2 separate regions of the Homo sapiens genome follow, and region 1 is linked to region 2. Evidence: promoter capture Hi-C in 16 types of primary human blood cells and fetal thymus (Javierre and others, 2016). All regions are on one chromosome and are shown on one strand. Each heading gives the region's core, a stretch centred on a gene start or on the middle of the fragment in contact. The rest is flanking DNA. Distances are from core to core; before and after follow the strand shown.

Region 1 (5,798 bases), core at 1,373-3,872, 230 kb before region 2:
GCATCTCCCAGGAGAACAGGGCATGGCACACACGCAGGACCACACACGGGGCCACAGGGGGAGCACCAAGTTTGGTCAGGAGGCTGAAAGGAAGGATCAGAACAGCACAGGCCACAGCCTTTTGTGGGGTTTCCACCCGAAGTGCAAGGCAGGCCAGGGGAAGCAGCCCGGGTCTGGCTAGTTGGAATAATTCCAGGGGGCCTTGGGCTTAGGGGCCGTCCCTAGTTGTCTCTACCTGGCTCTGGGTGATTTAGGGCAGGGGAAATACTGGCTTGGTGTGAGAGTTAAATAGAGATGGTTGGGGGGCCTGTGATTGGGATTGGTTGGAGGGTTTGTAACTATTATTACTTTCAAACACTTGCAAAAACCAGCTTGCAGGGGAGGTATAAATGCTTTTGGCCCTGTGATTTGGCCCTGTGATAAATGGATGCCAAATAGACCAAATACAGTCTCTAAGAAAACACAGTGAAACACCCCAGCCCACAGCTCTTGGCACTGCCCAGGTTGCGTCTGGAGTTAGTGGCCCTGCTAGTCCCAGCAGGGTTTCTTCCTTCTTCCTCTTCATCCAGCAAACCCCAGACAGTGTAATTGGCGGTTTCTTTGCTTCTGTTCCCACAAGAGGAGAGCCGGCCAGCTACAGACACCCCTGCCCCAAGGCCTAGTGCAGCTACAACCAGATGTGGCTGATCCCAGCCCCTGGGGACAGCGATGGGGCCGGAGTCTGGCTGGTGGGGTCAGGGCCCCTGGCGCATCAGCCTCAGAACTTCCTCCTAAGAGCAGAGTGCCCTCTGGTGGGCCACTGGAAAACAACCCAATTCTAATTTCCACGTTTGGAGATGCAATATGCTTCAAGCCGGGTTATTAGGGCTCCCCAGGAAATTTCTCTTTCCCCACTAGTGCCCCTTGTGGAATTCACCTGAGCAGCACTGATGAAAATGTATAAATCAAATATACACTGTGCACAAAGCTTTTTTCCCTCCTCATAAATGAGTCTGGTACTGTTTCCTGACCCAAATACCTGCTCAGTGAGTTTATTGGGTAAATCACCCAAGCAGCTCCAATTACAAGGGGTAGAGTGTGGTCAGGATTAGACTAAGGTGAGCGTTGGGTGCAGGTGGAGGACACACAGCTGAGGTTGAGTAGGCTGGCTGTGGCAGAGGCAGCACTGAGTTGAGCGTTGAAGAGAAACTGGATTTCAGAATAGTGGCTCACGCCTGTAATCCCAGCACTTTGGGAGGCCGAGGTGGGCGGATCACTTGAGCTCGGGAGTTCGAGACCAGCCTGGCCAACATGGTAAAACCCCATCTCTTCTAAAAATACAAAAATCAGCCAGGTGTGGTGGTGCACACCTATAATCCCAGCTACTCAGGAAGCTGAGGCATGAGAATCGCTTGAACCCGGGAGACAGAGGTTGCAGTGAGCCAGATCGCACCACTGCACTCCAGCCTGGGTCACAGAGCCAGACTCCATCTGAAAAAAAAAAAAAAAAAAAAAAAAAAAAAAAGCAGGGGTGGGGTGGGGGAGGAGGGGAGGCACCTACCAGGTGAAAGAAACAACATAAGTCTGGCGCTTCTCCTCACTTTTCACCCCGAACCTGCCCATTCCTCTTTTTCCCTCCCAGCAGTCTTTCCAATCACAGCAGTCTCCAGGTCACACCTCCTTAAAATGCCCTAAGGTCACATGGCAGTTGTCCTATCTCTTGCATCTCACCATCCCCCAGCTTGCACCGGATGCTGCTCGTGAATACTTGGATTCTGAATCCTGCGTTTTGTTGCCAGTCCTGGATCCACCTCTTCCCTGCCTTTATGCAATGCCCCACCCTATCTCACTTTCAGGGACCCTCTGGCAACTCCCCACCTCCTCACAGGCCTCCACGGCAGCTCTACTTACCTAAGCTTACAATATGGGCTTCTGAGTAGGATTTCAGTAGGGAAAAAACAAAAAAGGTCTTGCTTTTTTAAACGAAGTTTGCTGGAGGCCAGGCGCGGTGGCTCATGCCTGTAATCTCAGCACTTTGGGAGGCCAAGGCGAGTGGATCACATAAGGCCAAGAGTTCAAGACCAGCCTGACCGACATGGTGAAACCCCGTCTCTACTAAAAATACAAAAAAATTAGCCGGGTGTGGTGGCGGGCGCCTGTAATCCCAGCTACTTAGGAGGCTGAAGCAGGAGAATCGCTTGAACCTGGGAGGCGGAGGTTGCAGTGAGCTGAGATGGAGCCATTGCACTCTGAGAGTCCTTCCAGCTCTCGCCTGCAGGGTGCAGGGGTCCAGACCCCGGCTGTCTCTGGCCTTTGCTGTCTTAGGAGCTTCTCCTTGCCTCCCTCCCTTTTTAGATCATCCTTCCTCCTCCCGGTGGATTCAGAGGACAATTTTCCATGAAGAACTCAGACTGGGCCATCCCCAGGACTCTGGGTCTTAGGCAGTTGTTCAAGTGATCCTCCTCGGCATCAGGACAGGAGATGAGCCCACTTGCGGCTGAAGAGACCCTAGAGTCACAGGCAAGCCAGTTCACTGGTTTTATCAACCTCGTTATCGCTGTGCCCGTACTGGAAAGTAAACTTGGGTTCTATCATCTGCCCTGCAATGAGCTGACTGGCCACAAGGGAGCAGCAGGAGGCAACAGCCGGGCCTGGAAATTGCCCTTCTAACCGCAGCCCCACCAAACAATGCCCGCCACAAGGTCCTCGGAAGAGAAGGACCCGCGCCCCTGCCGCCAAACTGTGTTCAGAGAGAAGCCACGGCCCCATCGCTGGTTGGGAGAGTGAGAGAGAACTAGAAGGCTTAGGCCCCGACTCCTCTGTGCTCAGCCCTTAGCTGGGCATGGGCAGAGGGGTCTGGGGGTGGGGTGTCCTGAGCCTCTAGTCCCCATCTTTTTTAGCACAGGGGTGTGGGGTCCCCGGAGTGGCTCACGGAGCTCTCAACCTAATGGAGGAGCTGGGACTGCCACACACGCGCACGCACACACACACACACACACACACACACACACACACAATGAGAGAACCACGCGGAGCAGGGGTCGGCTTCAGGGCAGTCCCTAAGAGCTGGGGGAGCGAGTCGGTGGGCGGTTGTGCTGGGCCGGCTTCCGGCAGGCTGGGCGCAGCCAGGGCCGGGTGGGGATCACACTTCAGTCAGGAGGAACCACAGGGCCGCGTGGCGCCCGCCTGCCTGAGCCTGGAGTGGGCTAGGAAGTCAGCCGCAGGCAGAGGGCCCAGGACCCACAGAGCCCCCTCGCCCTGGAGCTGGGGTCTGGAGTTTGAGCGGGGAGAGGGAGCCAGGGCCAGGAGGAGCCGGGCCAGCTGGACTGCAGTGAGTGCAGGGGAAGGCAAGGACAGGGCTACAAGCTTCCCCCACCCTTGGCCAGGGGGCTCCCCAGCACTGGGCAGAGCTGTGGCCTGCGGCAGGGTCCTGGCCAGTCTGTGAAATTGACTCCAGCACCTCGGGGAAGTTTGTCCTCAGCTCCACGTGGGGCAAGAACAGGAGCTGGGCTGGGGGGAAACCGGGAGACCTTGGGGTGGGTAGGGAGAGAATCCAGCGGCCGCCTCCCAGGACCCCGCCAACCCCGCCCCTGCCCGGGCCTCTCACCAGGGCCTCCCCTCACTGGTGCGTGGTCTGCGGAAGCCACGTGCCCTTCTCAGCCTCAGTTTCCCTTTCCGACCTGCACAGGGCAGGACCAGAGGTTCTCTGAGAACCCTCCCAGAGTGACAGGCCGGAGTGGAAGCGCATCTTGCGCTGTGGGGACAGACACGCTGACACAGACTGAGGATAAAGACTTTAATCTGGGCCCTTTGTGCCCATGGCTCCAGTTCAGACAAGGGGATGGGATCTCCCTCACTGTGGCTCTTCTTCGTCCCTGGAAGGCCTCCCCTGGACCCAGGCGCTCAGGGTGGGGGCGGTGAACACCAACGGTGGAGGTCCCAGGTAGTCCCGGGAGACAGTCAGGAGTCTGGGGTGAGGAGGCTTCAAGACCTCTCAAGGCTTTGCAGGTATTTAACTGCATTCTTCACTCTCTTGTTGTTGGGGTCCGAACAGATGGCCCTGCCCTGCACAGTTACAAAACTACACAGAAGGAGGACGTTACCAGGAGTGGCAGGGGGGGAAGGGCCCCCAGAGTCCCTGGGACGGCCCGCCCTGTGCTGACCAGGATTCCAAGGCTCCAAGAGGGGCAGGAAGTTGCTGCTGTCACACAGGGCATTGGTGGCAGATCTGGGACTTCAGGCTCTGTCCCGAGTAATCTCGACCCTCCCAGGGAGCCAGGGCTGCAGGAACTTGTGCCCACCCCTCAGCCTGCCCATGCCCCCAGACAGTCTAGAGCCTGGGACGTGGAGACTGCGGGCAGGGCTCAGGCCCAGGCTGGGGGAGGTGACCACATTGCCCCTGACCAGCTGTGTGACCTGGGGGTGTTCATTGCTCCCGGGGCCTCAATTTCACCACAAATCAAGGAATAGGTTGGACCTCATGGCCTGCGGCCCTTTTGGGTCCCACAGTGTGGGGAGCCTGCAGGGGTTGGGGAGGAAGGCCCCGCTGTCTCTTCCCTGCTCCCCATTGGCCGTCCTGGGAGCTCCAGGGTGCACTTGTCCCCATGCTTGGCCCTGAGGAGCAGGGGTGGAGCCAGGGGGACTTACACGATGGCATCCCTGGAGCAGTCCTCAGATGTCTGGTACCACGTCTTCAGCTTTCTAAGGGGAATGGCTCCCTTGAAGTACTCCAGGCAGCACTCCCGGCCCACATTGGTCCCTCGAGCTGCAGGGAGAGGAGCGGGGCAGGGGTGTCTGTGAGTGTCTGCGTGTGTGTTGCGGGGACCTCTGGGGGGTGTTCGTGGAAGATCTGCATGTGCGTGTCCATGTGTGCATCTGTGTGTGATGACTGCATGTGTATCACTGCCTATGTGTATGTGTGTGTGTCTGTGTGTTACCATACACAGGTGTGTGTGAGGCTTCTGTGTATGTTGTGGGGTCCCGTGTGTTTGTGGGTGTGCATGTTTTGTGTGTCTGTGGGGGATTCTGTGTGTCCTGTGAGTGCCTACGTGTGTGTCTCTGTGCATCTGTGCGCGTCCCTGTATGTCTATACCTGGCAACCTTATTTCATTTTTCCTTTCCCAACCTAATATAAGAATCTCTTTTTTCAGTCTGGGCGCCGTGGCTCATGCCTGTAATCCCAGCACTTTGGGAGGCCAAGGCGGGTGGATGGCCTGAGGTCAGGAGTTCGAGACCAGCCTGACCAACATGGTGAAAACCCATTGGTGGCGTGGTGGCCGGGCACCTATATTCCCAGCTACTCGGGAGGCTGAGGCAGGAGAATCGCTTGAATCCGGGAGGCAGAGGTTGCAGTGAGCCAAGATCACACCATTGCACTCCAGCCTGGGCGACAGCGCAAGACTCCATCTCAAAAAAAAAAAAAAAAAAAAAAAAAAGAATCCTTTTTTACATGCTCTTGGAAACAATTCTCCTATCTTTATGCTGATTCCCTCATTGTGCATAAAACCTGTTAATAAAACAGAAGCTAATAAATAATTTTGAGAATTGTTCATTTTCCATTGCACAACTACAGCCACAGCCCCCACCTCACGGCCATTGCAGCCCAAGATGTGCTCGCCTTGGTCCTCACCAAGCCCACCCGCAAGAGCTGGGGCATCGTCATCATCAACATTTTTCTCTGCTTGTTTCCCTCAAAATCCTAGTGCTGTGGGCTTCTCACGTCTTTTGTGGGAGTAGGTGGGGTGTAAATAATACACAAACGTGTGTATTGCTGTGGTGGTCTTCATGCCCCCAACCCCTGTCCTCCCGGTGCCTGCCCC
Region 2 (5,480 bases), core at 1,393-3,892:
GCATAACATAGAAAGACATTAAATAGTAGGTTAGGGCAACATGCATCCTGGGAGATCAAATAACTCACAATCACCAGTTATAGTTTTTAAAAAGATCCACAGAATATAGGATCACAAAAACAGAAAATTCAGAGCAGTACAAAAATTACTTCGAAAGGCAGACACAGTGGCTCACGCCTGTAATCCCGGCACTTTGGGAGGCCGAGGCAGGCGGATTACAGGACGTCGGGAGTTCGACACCAGCCTGACCAACACGGAGAAACCTCGTCTCTACTAAAAATACAAAATTAGCTGGGCGTGGTGGTACATGCCTGTAATCCCAGCTACTCCGGAGGCTGAGGCAGGAGAATCGCTTGAACCCAGGAGGCGGAGGTTGCAGTGAGCCGAGATAGCGCCACTGCACTCCAGCCTGGGCAACAAGAACGAAACTCCGTCTCAAAAAACAAACAAACAAAAAAACCAAAAACACAACTAAATTACTTCGGAAAAAATCCCATATAAATTGCCCGATATTTGGAAAACCATCTCTAACAAGTACGACGAACCAAACACTAGTAAAATGTCATACAGGGACACAAGTCTCTTACAATCTCATAGAGGGATCTACAAAGCAAGATACCATCCCAGGAAATGATTGCCCGATATTTGGAAAACCATCTCTAACAAGTACGACGAACCAAACACTAGTAAAATGTCATACAGGGACACAAGTCTCTTACAATCTCATAGAGGGATCTACAAAGCAAGATACCATCCCAGGAAATGCAAAGTCCACATAAGGGGAAAAATAAAGAGAACCACTGTGCAAGAGAAATTTAAAAGCAACTTCCAACATGCCTCATAATCTATAGTCTAGGGCTACCACAACAACGCATAGTATTCGTGGAGGAAAAAAGGCAGTCTTTACAAATCACAACTGAGGGAGAAAGTATGATATTCACTGCCTGTAGACATCCAAAAGCCATGCATATATATATGCAAAAGGGGGAGGAGGTTTACAATGTTGAGATCAAATTACTTAGAGGAAAATTTCAGCTGTTAGGGGAAAATAATTCCTGAAGGAAAAGATATTACAGTGGTAACTCCTGCCAGCACCATAAGAAGTTCAAAGTAAATGAAAACTCTGAGAGCAAAAGCTGGAAATCCCACCATCCCCATCTAAGCAGGGTTTGAAACCATGGGTTTAGATCTTAATATGACCTAAGAAGCTGTGAACCTTGAAGCTTTCAGTACAATATGGCTCCCAGCACTCCGCAGGTGACAGACAACGACTGTATTAATCCCACCCCTTACCTCTACATACTACTTTACATTTTAGAAAGTGCCTTCACTTTTATTCCTCAACAGCAACCCGTTTGGTGGTAGAATCACACTAACTTACGTTCACGCAGCTTGTAATTTGTACTTTCACATACTGCGCTGGTTATTTTACAGTAGAGACTTAAGGAGGTTAAGTCACTCCACTAAGCAAGAACAGATGGTAGGTAAAGGGCCTGGAAAACTGCGGGATTCTACTCAGTCGATAACAGACACTTCTAACCCTTCAAAGTTCAAAGTACAACACTCCAGGGGGAGCAACCTCTCTCAGAGAACTATACAAGACAGGACCTCGGAGTCTCAGCCGACCGCCTCGGTCTCAGTCGGTTTCCCTCCCCAAAGACGGGGAAAGTGAGGCAGCAGGAGAGACAAATGCCTAATTTGGACTCACGCAAGGGGTGTTGGTGGGATAGACTCTCCCCACCCCACTCGGGCAATAAGCCCGGAAGCAGTTGGATCCTGTGTCTGGGACACCTGGTCGATCTACAGAGAGAGGGAATAATTCCCGTTTCCCTTTCACTACTCCCCACTCTGGCTTTCCTGTGGATGGAGGTGTCTTCTTCCCATCACCGCCCAGAAATCCCCTCTCCCCAAGGTCCTTACCCAATTTTCAGCTCCGGCTTCCGTAGTAGGACATTCCGCTAGTTCTAGCTCCTGCTTCCTAGCCCCATTCTCTCTCTATCCCAAGGCGTTTCTAAATCTCCCCGGGGAGGTATGCCTCATCCGTGCCACCTAGACCGTAAACTCCACAAAAAGAACCCTCCTAAAGCGTCCCTTCATCTACCCTTTCTATCCCGGGCACCCCTGAGTAGGTCAGGACCCCATCGGTACCAGGAGCCACCCCAGGAGATAGATAGCTGCCTCTCACCTGGGCCCTGTTAGCCGCAGCCTCCTCAGAAGGGCGACCCCCAAGAACCTCTTCTGGTGAGGACCCCCGAAAGAGGGAACACCCTCTTCTAGGAACCTCTTCAGATCCCTCAAGCGCGGGCCTCGGTGGAAAACCTCTCGGCTGTTTCTCAGGTTCTGACCAACGCCACCTCTCTCCCGGGCCCTTTCCAGAGCCTACCCCGGCCCCAGTCCGGTCCGCCCGCCCCAGGCTCGAGCGGCTGTTCCCCTCCCTCACAGACGTCCCCAACCCTCAGACTCCCTCCCGTTCCGCGTGCCCAGGGCTCAGAGCAGCGCGGTCGGGCTGTGGCACTGACTTTCTCTACCTCCCGGGCCCACCGGAGGGAGGGGGCGGCGGCGGCGGCGCGACTCCTTTGTGACAGGTCCGAGAGAACGGCAAAGATGGACGCGAGGCCACGGCGCTGCCATTACGCGCAGAGCCCACCCCCGCTTCGTACCGCCCCAGCCCTCCCTCAGTCCCCTAGGAAACGCCCCTTCCTCGGTGGCAAGCCCTCTCCTTGACAGCCAATCACCTTTCAAAAATCGTGTCACGTGATCAGCGGGACCGGCCCGCCCTCCAGGCGCAGACTGGCCAGTCCTCATCCTGAGGCGTGAATGGCCCAATCAAGTCTCTCCGGCTCGTTTTCAGGGTACCGGATTTCCATCGGGCTCCCGGGGAGGAAGAGCTCCGCGGATTGGGTTACGTCGCCGGAAGTGGGGCGGGACTCTATTGTGGCGGTGAGGAACAGGAAGCCCTGAAGGGTCAAAAGAAATACAAAAGCAAAGGCTATTTTCTTTTTTTTTTTCTTTCTTTCATTCATTCCTTCCTCTGTTTCTTTCTTTCTTCCTTTCATTTTTTTTTCTTTTTTAAGAGCGAGCGGCTCTGCGGTGGCGGTTTGGGGTGGGCGCCGCCGAGGTGAGGTCGTCTCGCCTCCCGCGCGCCGGTAGGTGAGTGCGGCCTCGGTCCTGGCCTGGCGGCGACACCTGGGTTCCAGCTTCCTTACGGAAGAGATGAGCTGCGGCTGCTGTTAGGGTTAGGGCCAGGCCTGTTCTCAGTCCGCGCACCCGCTCCTTGTCCGGAGTAGCCGAAGCCTGGGGCTTGCGGGCCCAGCCTGAGGGGAGCTGAGGGTGCCCGCGGGAAGGCATCTGGGTCGCGGCGAGGACCCTTTCAGGCGGGCCCAACACTGCCGGGCGTTTAATGGGGTTTCCCCAATTTTCTGCTAGGTAGGGCCACCCAGGTTTCAAGTGAGTAGCAGGCTCCGTTCCAGAGGTCTTGGAACAGGTCCAGGTTACTCACTCGGATGTGCGGCGTCTGGTTGGAAATGGTTGAATCCCAGAATGGCAGTGCAGGATGGGAAGCACATTTATTGTGTGCCATGTACCAGTTGCTGTGCCAAGCGAATTTTCTATTACGGAAAACAAGCCAGCTGGCCCGTTTTGCAGAAAACTTAAGAAACAAAGAGAGTTGAAGCGTCATGCTTGAGAGTTGGTGGTCCTTGTGACTGTCAGTCCACACAGAGGAAAGGGGGAGACCTGTTTGTTCGTAGTCGTGGTTCTTTAATGTTAGTGGAAAACAAGATCTCCTGGGGCCCTTTTAAAATGCAGTTTCTCAGACTCCCGCACGCTCGGGTAGCCCGACTGGTTAGTTCAGGAGTGGGACCCAAGAAGCCAGATGCGAGCCTGGTGATCGGAATTCCCGATGACCTCTTGCCTACCACCTGTGACATAAGATTTGTCGATTCATCAGTTATTTGGTGTATTCATGTGTCCACAGGGACACCATAAAATGGAAGGCACCCTTCTGAAATATTTGAAGGGAATCAGTGGGTAGACTCCTTTTTGATACAAAGTATTGAGCCGACAGCAGCTTTTACAGTCTTTTAGTTAGATGACCTGCGAACAATTTGTAAGGATCTGAAAGTAGAGGCTGCCCGATTATCTTTCTCAACTGAAGTCTTCATGTCCTTACCCTGTGGGGAAGTGCTTCATGATATAAGAAAGGAATAATTGTGTCAAAACCATTTAGTTGATTATCAGTCTTCACTTTCATCTTCCAAGAATGGTGATGCTTGGTTAGAATCAAGCTGCTGCTTTAGCTATTGAAAACCACGTATGTGGTAAATCAAGTAACAAGTGCGATGTACGTACAGGGTCAGTCATAGTGTAATTATGCCTTTATGGCAGCTAAATTAAGCATTTTCAACGTGTTCACCATTAGTCACCTTTTGAACATACTTTGTCTTCATTCTTAAATATTATGTTTCACTCTTTACTATAGAATATGTTGTTAAGATTGTTTTGTCTAAAATCAAGTATCGACAAGTTTAAAAAAAAGATTGTTTTGTGTTTGGTTTTCTGTATTTCCACTATGCTCTATGGAACTATGGGTTTGTTTTTGTTCAATTTGTTTGGTATTTATTAGACTTCTTGAATCTGTGGATTAGTGTCTTTCATTAATTCTGTAAAATTCTCAGCCATTTTATATGCATATATTGCTTCTTCCCATTGTTTCTCTTTTTTTTTTTATCGATTTAACTAAACCTTTTCACTCTTTTCTCTATGTCTTTTACTCTGTTCTTTCGTAGTACATTCTGGATAATTTATTCTCAAGTTATTTCCATTGTTATTAAACTCGGCCTCTGAAATCTTAAATCATATATTGCAATTTTTAGTTTCTGAAGTTCTGTTTGGTTTGTGACACTTTTACAGTTTTTTATTTCTTACTATTTTGAGGCTTAATTTTATTTCTTTAAACATGGAAAGTATAGTTGTTTTTATAATCTCTATGTTTAATTCCACTGTCTGAATTCCCTTTGGGGGAGTCTGTTTCTGTTGTCCATTATTCCTGCTGTTTTACTTCCCAGTTCACCTTTACTTTGAAGCTGTAGTTCTTTTGGGCACAAGATTAAGATGGAGAGGGAGGTAGTTGTCAGACTCCACTCCCTGGATGGGCTCCTGGCTTGAACTTGTTTCTGTTATCTCATAAAGGCACTGAAACTTTAGCTTTTAGGTCAGAGAAGTCCTCAGGATGAAATCCATTTTGAATATTGGGCTTAATTTCTGGTTTTCACCTTCTAGATTGTGTCCAAATTCTTTACTATCTTGTTAGCTTTTCTATTTAAGAATTAATATTTTTGGCTGGGCGTGGTAGCTTACACTTGTAATCCCAGCACTTTGGTAGGTCGAGGTGGGCAGATCACTTGAGGTCAGGAGTTTGAGACCAGCCTGGCCAACATGGTGAAACCCTGTCTCTACTAAAAATACAAAAATTAGCCAGT

The links. Contacts are between HindIII fragments. The CHiCAGO score rates a contact against its expected background, and 5 or more counts as called.
Region 1: a contact is called between a fragment that was not itself captured here and the fragment with the promoter of RSPRY1 in region 2, in 1 of 17 cell types (endothelial precursors). The highest score is 5.9, in endothelial precursors.

Annotation. Positions count from the first base shown.
Region 1 is chr16:57,414,027-57,419,824 of GRCh38, reverse strand. It overlaps CCL17 (C-C motif chemokine ligand 17), which reads right to left. Exons shown (of 4, transcript NM_002987.3): 3 at 4,627-4,744; 4 at 3,762-4,060. The coding sequence ends at 3,964. Among named protein-coding and RNA genes, the nearest start is that of CCL17, 12 kb to the right of the region's middle. RefSeq lists enhancers at 1,646-2,160, 2,677-3,192, 3,193-3,708. The HindIII fragment of the contact is 1,450 bases long and covers 1,898-3,347 here.
Region 2 is chr16:57,183,491-57,188,970 of GRCh38, reverse strand. RSPRY1 (ring finger and SPRY domain containing 1) reads right to left here and starts at 2,642. Exons shown (of 15, transcript NM_133368.3): 1 at 2,520-2,642. It overlaps PSME3IP1 (proteasome activator subunit 3 interacting protein 1), which reads left to right and starts at 2,932. Exons shown (of 7, transcript NM_024946.4): 1 at 2,932-3,150. RefSeq lists enhancers at 1,302-1,946, 3,258-3,307 and a silencer at 2,348-2,557. The HindIII fragment of the contact is 4,622 bases long and covers 1,226-5,480 here.